Regions from separate parts of the Homo sapiens genome. Here region 1 is linked to region 2. The links are contacts of gene promoters, found by promoter capture Hi-C in human tissues and cell types (Jung and others, 2019). All regions are on one chromosome and are shown on one strand. The core of a region is centred on a gene start or on the middle of the fragment in contact, and the rest is flanking DNA. Distances in the headings are between cores, read along the strand shown. Region 1 overlaps NECAB1 (N-terminal EF-hand calcium binding protein 1). Region 2 holds the start of LRRC69 (leucine rich repeat containing 69).

What was found. The method cuts DNA at HindIII sites, captures the fragments that hold promoters and counts their contacts. A contact is called where the count stands out against the background at its distance.
Region 1: a fragment that was not itself captured here is called in contact with the fragment with the promoter of LRRC69 in region 2 in 3 of the 25 tissues and cell types used here (H1 embryonic stem cells, hippocampus and psoas muscle).

The regions. Positions count from the first base shown.
Region 1 is chr8:90,950,472-90,954,112 of GRCh38, reverse strand. It overlaps NECAB1 (N-terminal EF-hand calcium binding protein 1), which reads right to left. Exons shown (of 13, transcript NM_022351.5): 12 at 2,909-3,000. It overlaps LOC105375634 (a long non-coding RNA gene), which reads left to right and starts at 2,996. Exons shown (of 3, transcript XR_928396.3): 1 at 2,996-3,641. The HindIII fragment of the contact is 5,493 bases long and covers 1-3,641 here.
Region 2 is chr8:91,100,769-91,104,212 of GRCh38, reverse strand. It overlaps LRRC69 (leucine rich repeat containing 69), which reads right to left and starts at 1,594. Exons shown (of 8, transcript NM_001129890.2): 1 at 1,369-1,594. The coding sequence starts at 1,551. The HindIII fragment of the contact is 5,612 bases long and covers 616-3,444 here.

The DNA of each region.
Region 1 (3,641 bases), core at 89-2,588, 150 kb after region 2:
TATTTATTTATTTATTTATTTATTTATTTATTTATTTATTTATTTTGAGACAGTCTCGTTCTGTCACCCAGGCTGGAGTGCACTGGCACGAACTCAGTTCACTGCAACCTCTGCCTCCCAGGTTCAAGTGAGTCTCCTGCATCAGCCTACCAAGTAGCTGGGATTACAGGTATGCACCACCATGCCTGGCTAATTTTTTGTATTTTTTAGTAAAGAGAGGATTTCACCATATTGGCCACTGGTCTCGATCTCCTGTCCTCAGGTCATCTGCCCACCTTCGCCTCCCAAAGTGCTGGGATTACAGGCGTGAGCCATAGCGCCCAGCTAATTATTTTTATTTTTAATCTTCATAACCATTATAACACAAAATGTACAAAACTGGTTTTTAAAAATAGTGTTAGAAGTTATATGGCCATTAAAACCCATAAATAATATTTATATGCTAGCTTCTGCTTACTGGAATAGGCCTGCTGTCACAGTGATAAAACTTTAAAATAAGGTGGGATGTCCCAATAAATGTCAAAATGTTGTAGGTTTTAAAATTGTGTCAAAAATCAAGCCTAACTTTTCCTCTTGTTCTACGAAATTCCAGTAATCATTGTTGAAATTAAATGTAACATGAAATTAATACAAAATAGGGCAGCAATTAAAAGACATTAAATTGTATTGAGCCTGGATTCACAGAACAAGAATTGATCCAGTTTTATCTGTAGTCAGTTTTTCTTTCTAAATTAGGAAATGCTCTGAGAGAGAAAGAGTAATATATGTGCCAATGACACTAGTAGTGTCTAGAAAATAATTCCAGATAATGATAAAGTTGGGTCAGAAAACTATCAGATTAGTCCACATTTTCAATTCTTGCTATAGCATTTTCCCCCTCACTGATAATTCAGTAGCCTCCTGTTCTATCCTCTTTTCCTACTCTATTTTTGATCAGGTTGTTTCTGTCCTGGAAAGACTCAAGACACTAATAAGAACAAGCTTTGTTCCTTTCTTTCCACATTGGTTTGGGAGAGATGGAAATGGGTGTGATGACAGACACAAAAATTACAAGTGTCAGGACTTCGTGGAAATTTTGACCGAAGACCAATATATTTATGATGATGCCAAAGTCCTATTCATTCCTTCATTTAGGAAATAATTTCTTCTTGCCATATACTGTACTATAGTAATACTGTAATAGGGTAGGGAATGTGAAGATAAATAAAATGTGGATCTCACTTTCCTGCATTCTATGTACAAAGCTTGCAGCAGTCATATTTACAGAAGTTGTATTCTAAGATTTTTCTCCCTATTTTATTTTATTTTATTTTAATTTTATTATTATTGTTTTTTGACATGGAGTCTCGCTCTGTCGCCCAGTCTGGAGTGCAGTGGTGCGATCTTGGCTCACTGCAACCCTCCGCCTCCTGGGTTCAAGCAATTCTCCTGCCTCAGCCTCCTGAGCAGCTAGGATTACAGGCATGCCCCACCATGCCCAGCTACTTTTTGTATTTTTAGTAGAGGTGGGGTTTCACCATGTTGGTCAGGCTGGTTTCGAGCTCCTGGCCTTGTGATCCGCCCACCTCAGCCTCCCAAAGTGCTGGGATTACAGGCGTGAGCCACCGCGCCCAGCCTTCCTCCCATTTATAACATCATAACACTATACATCCCCCACTCATCCCCAGGAGCACTGTATCTTTGCATTTTACTCTTTTGGTTTCCTTGATACTCCACTGCTTAAAGAAAGGCATCTCCCCAAGCTTCTCTTAGATATTTTGTTCTTACCTACATACTTTCTTACCAATCCCAGGCTTCAACAATCATCTTGCTGTGGTTAACTCCTGAAAATTACATCTGCAACTGGAGTCCCAAACTCTGGCTATTTCCTGGTGCAGGTTTTTTTTTTTTTCTTCCCTGGCCTAGATTATTGCCCTAATTGGTTAATCTCTCTCCTCTCCATGACATCCACCTTTCTCCCTCCTGTCAGTTATTACTGATTAGAACATGTCACCATCCCTTTCAAAACTTTAAATTACTCCAGGTTGCTGTTCAAAAGCCTCATTATGACATTCTCAACCTCACTTCTTACTCTCTCGTCTGTCTCCACTTGTACTGTAAGTTTTATGCCTTAGTGACACCTTTGCACCTATAAAGCACATTCACACTTCTTGCATTTGTTCATGTCCAAATTTACCAAAGGACCCTTCCTCTCCATCTTTACTTTTCCACATCTCATCTTTTAAGGACTAGCTCAAGTCATTTTCTTAAAAACTATTAAAGAAGTAATCACTTCTCCAAGTCCACAAAACACATATTATCTCTAATGGTGACAGCTATTTTATTCCCTTAGCTGGGTTTTTTTTTTCTGCTAAAATTTGTCTTTGCAAACGTTTCTGTGAAGCTGGACAGAAAGCACTTTATGGGTAGGGATTTTGCCTTTAGTTTGTACCCTTTGTAGCTCCCAACACAGTGCTTGTTCAGAAATGGAGCTCAATCAGTACCAGTAAATTAGGCTAAACACCCTGATGCCTAGCACATATTAATACTCAGTAAATATATATTTAATCAGTAATTGGATGGGTAGATGAACAAATTGTATCCAGTACACTAAATTACAATATGATAAAATATTTGAATAATTTTTTGAAATATGATTTGGTGGTACTTCAAGTTTGTTAATATGATTAGCAAATGACTAATGGTTCAGTATAGCTGGGAATACAAATAGGGTCAACTAAGGACAAAATAGAACAAATATATAGATCTTTTATTTCTTCCCCCCAATCTCAAATCATAAAATATATAAAGAAATAAATAAGAGAGTACCATTGATAAAATATAGAAGGAAAGAGCATACTATCTTTTACGAAACAAACAAACAAAAATACAAAAGGACACAGAAGCATTGTAAACCCAGGATAATTACCAGGAACTAGCATTGTAGATGTGAGTTCTGGAGTTTCCAAGAAATCCACATTACTTCTTTGGAATGTCTTGCTATAATTTGTCTGAAGGTGGCTGTATAAATAATTATAGGTTAAGGCTGTGCATTTTTATTTACAATCTTCCCAAGTACAGCAGAGATCAAATTTGATCAAGATGGCAAAGTTTGGGATGATTTGGATTAAATAAGCTCCTGGATACAAGCTTCTTTTAATGGTTGTTCAGCTTTCAAAAATGACTCAGGAGTAATTTAATAATTGTCATCAGAAACTTTTTTAAAAAGGTTTTAAACCAGGAGAACATTACTTTTTTAGAGGATAAAAAGTAGATTTTATTGCACCAAATTTAAATATATCTTGTTTAAAAACAAGATAGATAATAAGACAGACTGTATATTTTACATTTCTAGATAATAAAAATAAATCTAAAAAGCTATGTGAAAGTGTTGGCCTGGAAGCAGAGTCGAATAAGTTACCTCGTTTCCTTCTATGGCTGAAATACTGTTGGTGTCATTTTGCCTTCCTTATAGCACAAAGTGCCTTCAAAATTGCCACAAAAATAAAACTTTTAGGTGAAACATGGATCAACTGAATTTCCAGGTATTCTATTACTTCCATCACCATATTTAACACCCTAAACATGGACTTATTTAGAGAGCTGTATTCTCTGTACCATTTTAAACTGTCAGGAATTGTTATATACTCTCAGAAGAGCAA
Region 2 (3,444 bases), core at 345-2,844:
ACTGCAGTTGATGAAGGAAGAAATAAAGGTGTAGTAACATTACATGTAAAAGATACCTGTAGACCTAATCCCCTGATTCCAGATGTGGATCAATACACAATAGATACATTAATATAACTGTATCTAGAAGATGAAGAAAAATGATGCCAAAAATAGACAAATCAATAAAATAGATGAGTTAAAAGTGGTTATATATGGAGATCGGGATTGAGGATGAGGGGAAGTGGGATAGAAGATAGCTTCTTGCTATAAGCTTTTTGTAATATTTAATTCTCGGTAACCAATGGTTAGTACTACTTTAATGGAAATAAATTCAAATAGAGGGAGAGAATAGGTTCATGACTCAGTCAAGTCCCAAATTCTTTTGCAAAGAAACTCCTCTTTCCTATTAAAAAATTCCAAGTCCTTGTTGTCTTGTAACTACAAGTATACCTTCTGCAATTACTAATGAAGGGGGACTTTGTAAAAGTTACCCTATTTCTTATAAAGATACAACTACAGATTACAAACTCAATTTCTTAAACGTAAAAGGAAATGAGGTAGGGTGAAAGTAAGAAAATACAGATTTATTTTTTGGAACTGTAAATTCAAAATTAATGAGCTATAACGCCTTAGCTGCTTCTAGGTTCTTCCTGTGCTGATGACAATTCAGCAGTGAACAAAAAGAAAATTACAAAGTTAATATCCCTTGCCTTCTCTCAACCTCAAGATTTTTGGCAGCTAGAGTTTCACATTGTTAGGCAGAAAGGTTTAACACAAGCATATGGGATTCATTCATGTCAACTATTCCTCTTTAAAAAAGAATATTTTTTATTTAAAATATTAAACTTCCTTTAAAGACTATTTCAGGAGAAATAAATGTCCCCTCCTTCCTATTCCCTGCCAACACTCCATTTCAAAGTTTCAGCCTGCCCTAGGAAATTGAAAAGGAACTCCCTTGCTGCATCCTAAATGTCTCTTCATTCTAAATGCAAAAGCTTCAGGACAGTCCCCAGGGTGAACAGCATCTCCTGGATCCTCAAAACTACTTCCAGATGTAAGCCCCCAAGATAGACGACCAGATCCAGGTTTCCAACCCCTTTCCAGATGACAGCCTCTAAAAAGATGAGTGTGGCAGAGACCTAGTCCCCTGACTCCAGATGTGGGCCAAAGAGCACATGAATAAATTGAAACATCTCTCCCTACCACATGGAATTCCCTAAGGGAGAAAGCCTTCTGATGCCTCTCCAGCAACACTCCACATTAAGTCTCCAGATACCTAAGTCTCCATAGATCGAAGTGTTATTGTTCTGTCTCTTACCCCTTTTTTCTCTCTTCCTGTTTTCCATCTTCAATACCAAACCACAACAGCAAAACACTGTTCCTCACCTGGGTCAAGTTGCATAACTCTGGACACACTTTGGGGATTAGGTTATTCTGAAGGACTAGAGTCTTCAGGCCAGGCAGTTTTCCTAATGCTGAGGGCATCTTTGTCATCTTCTTCCCATTCAAAGTAATGATCTTCGTATTTTTACCACCACTCAATGCTTTTATTAACAATCTCTCAGTCATGATCTTGGAAAAGAAGTAGAAAACAAGGTAACCATTAGAGTTCTTTATTATACAGCTTTAGAACCTCTAATTACAGAATTGGTGTGTCATAGAAACAAGAACATTCTGAGATCCACCATGTTGAAGGGGGGAAGCATTAGATTATTTTCCTATGTGAAAGATACGAAAGGAAAGTAGATGGTCCAGGTTTGGGGCAGGAAATGTATAATGTAAGCCTAAAATAGCTTATGCCTGCGATATTAAAGCTATCAGAGATTAATGAGGACACAGAAGTGAACTTCTAGGAGCTCCCACTAGTCTAAGATGGAAAATATTAAGGATCAGAAAGAAATAATCTAGAATAGACTGAAACATATCAAAACACATTAAAATCTGAGTTCATAATGGCATTTTTTAAAAAGAAACATTACTCACCCTGGGAATTACTAGCGCACCAACTCAGTCTGAAAATTGATAAAGGAAAAAATATAAGCATTTATTCTGCTTTTCCAGTACAAACTGCACTTAAATATAACTTAATAGTTAATAAAGTTCTTATTCACAAGAATTGAAACTAATAAATGAGAAAGACAAAATAACTAGAATAATCACAATTTTTGCAAATTCTAATAAAATAATGGAGCTATGCAAAAATCATAATTGGAGACTGAAAGTATTAGATGAAAGGTTGATGAGGAACTTTATAATCAAGTGATCAGGTTAATAACCCACTAATCATTTTAGCATCAATAAAATTGAGACAATCACATTATAAGCCTTATGAAGTAATGAATTAAAAAGTACACAGCAGCACCACCTATGAAATGTTCCTGTCCAAAAATTAAATCTGAATCTAATCATGGCTTCAAGATCTAACTACCATTTACAAAAAAACAGAACTAGAGAATAAGTTAAGTTCATTATAGGGAAACAGTCAAATCTATAACATGGAAGATTCTACAGGACTGGTCCCTGGTCCAATGTCACAAGGTTTCACCAACAAATGAAAGACATTAATAAAAAGGAGGGAAAACTGTTACGATGTAAGTGAAACTTAGGGCAAATAACAGCTAAATGCAATGTCTGGACTGTATTTGAATCCTCAGTTGAATACAAACATCTCAGGGAAATTTGTTCATCGGCTATTAGATGAGAGAAATTAATTCTGTTACATGTGAAAATGGTATGGTGGTAGTATTTATTTTAAATGTGCTTAACATTCAGAAATGCATACTGAAATTTTCAAGTGAAATAAAATGATATCTTGAGTTTTTTTAAAAATAATCTAGGGGGGAAAGTGGGTGGAAGAAACTGATCAAACAAGATTGACAAAATGTTGATAATTATTAATGCTGAGTAATAGACACATAGGGGTTTGTATTTGTCCATTCTCGCACTGCTATAAATACCTGAGACTAGGTAATTTATAAAGAAAAGAGGGTTAATTGGCTCACAGTTCTGCAGGCTATACAGGAAGCATGGTGCTGGCATCTGCTCAGCTTCTGGGGAGCCCTAAGGAAGCCTACAATAATGGTGGAAGGCAAAGGGAGAGCCAGCACTTCACATGGCCAGAGCTGGAGGAAGATAGGAAGGAGGTGCTACACACATAAACAACTAGATCTCAGGATAACTCACTCACTCACTAGCAGGAAAACAGCACTGAGAGGATGCTAATGCATTCATGAGAACTCCACCCCCAGGATCTAATCACCTCCCACCAGGCCCAGTCTCCAACACTGGGGATTATAATTGAACATGAGATTTTGGAGGGAACACAAATCCAAACCATATCAGCATTCATTATATTAGTCTTGTTATTTTTGCATATGTTTAAAAATTTCCAAATAAAAGATTTAAACGGTGACAAAAAGGAGAGGGAGGGGAGTTGTGGCCAGTAACATTTGATTATTATCA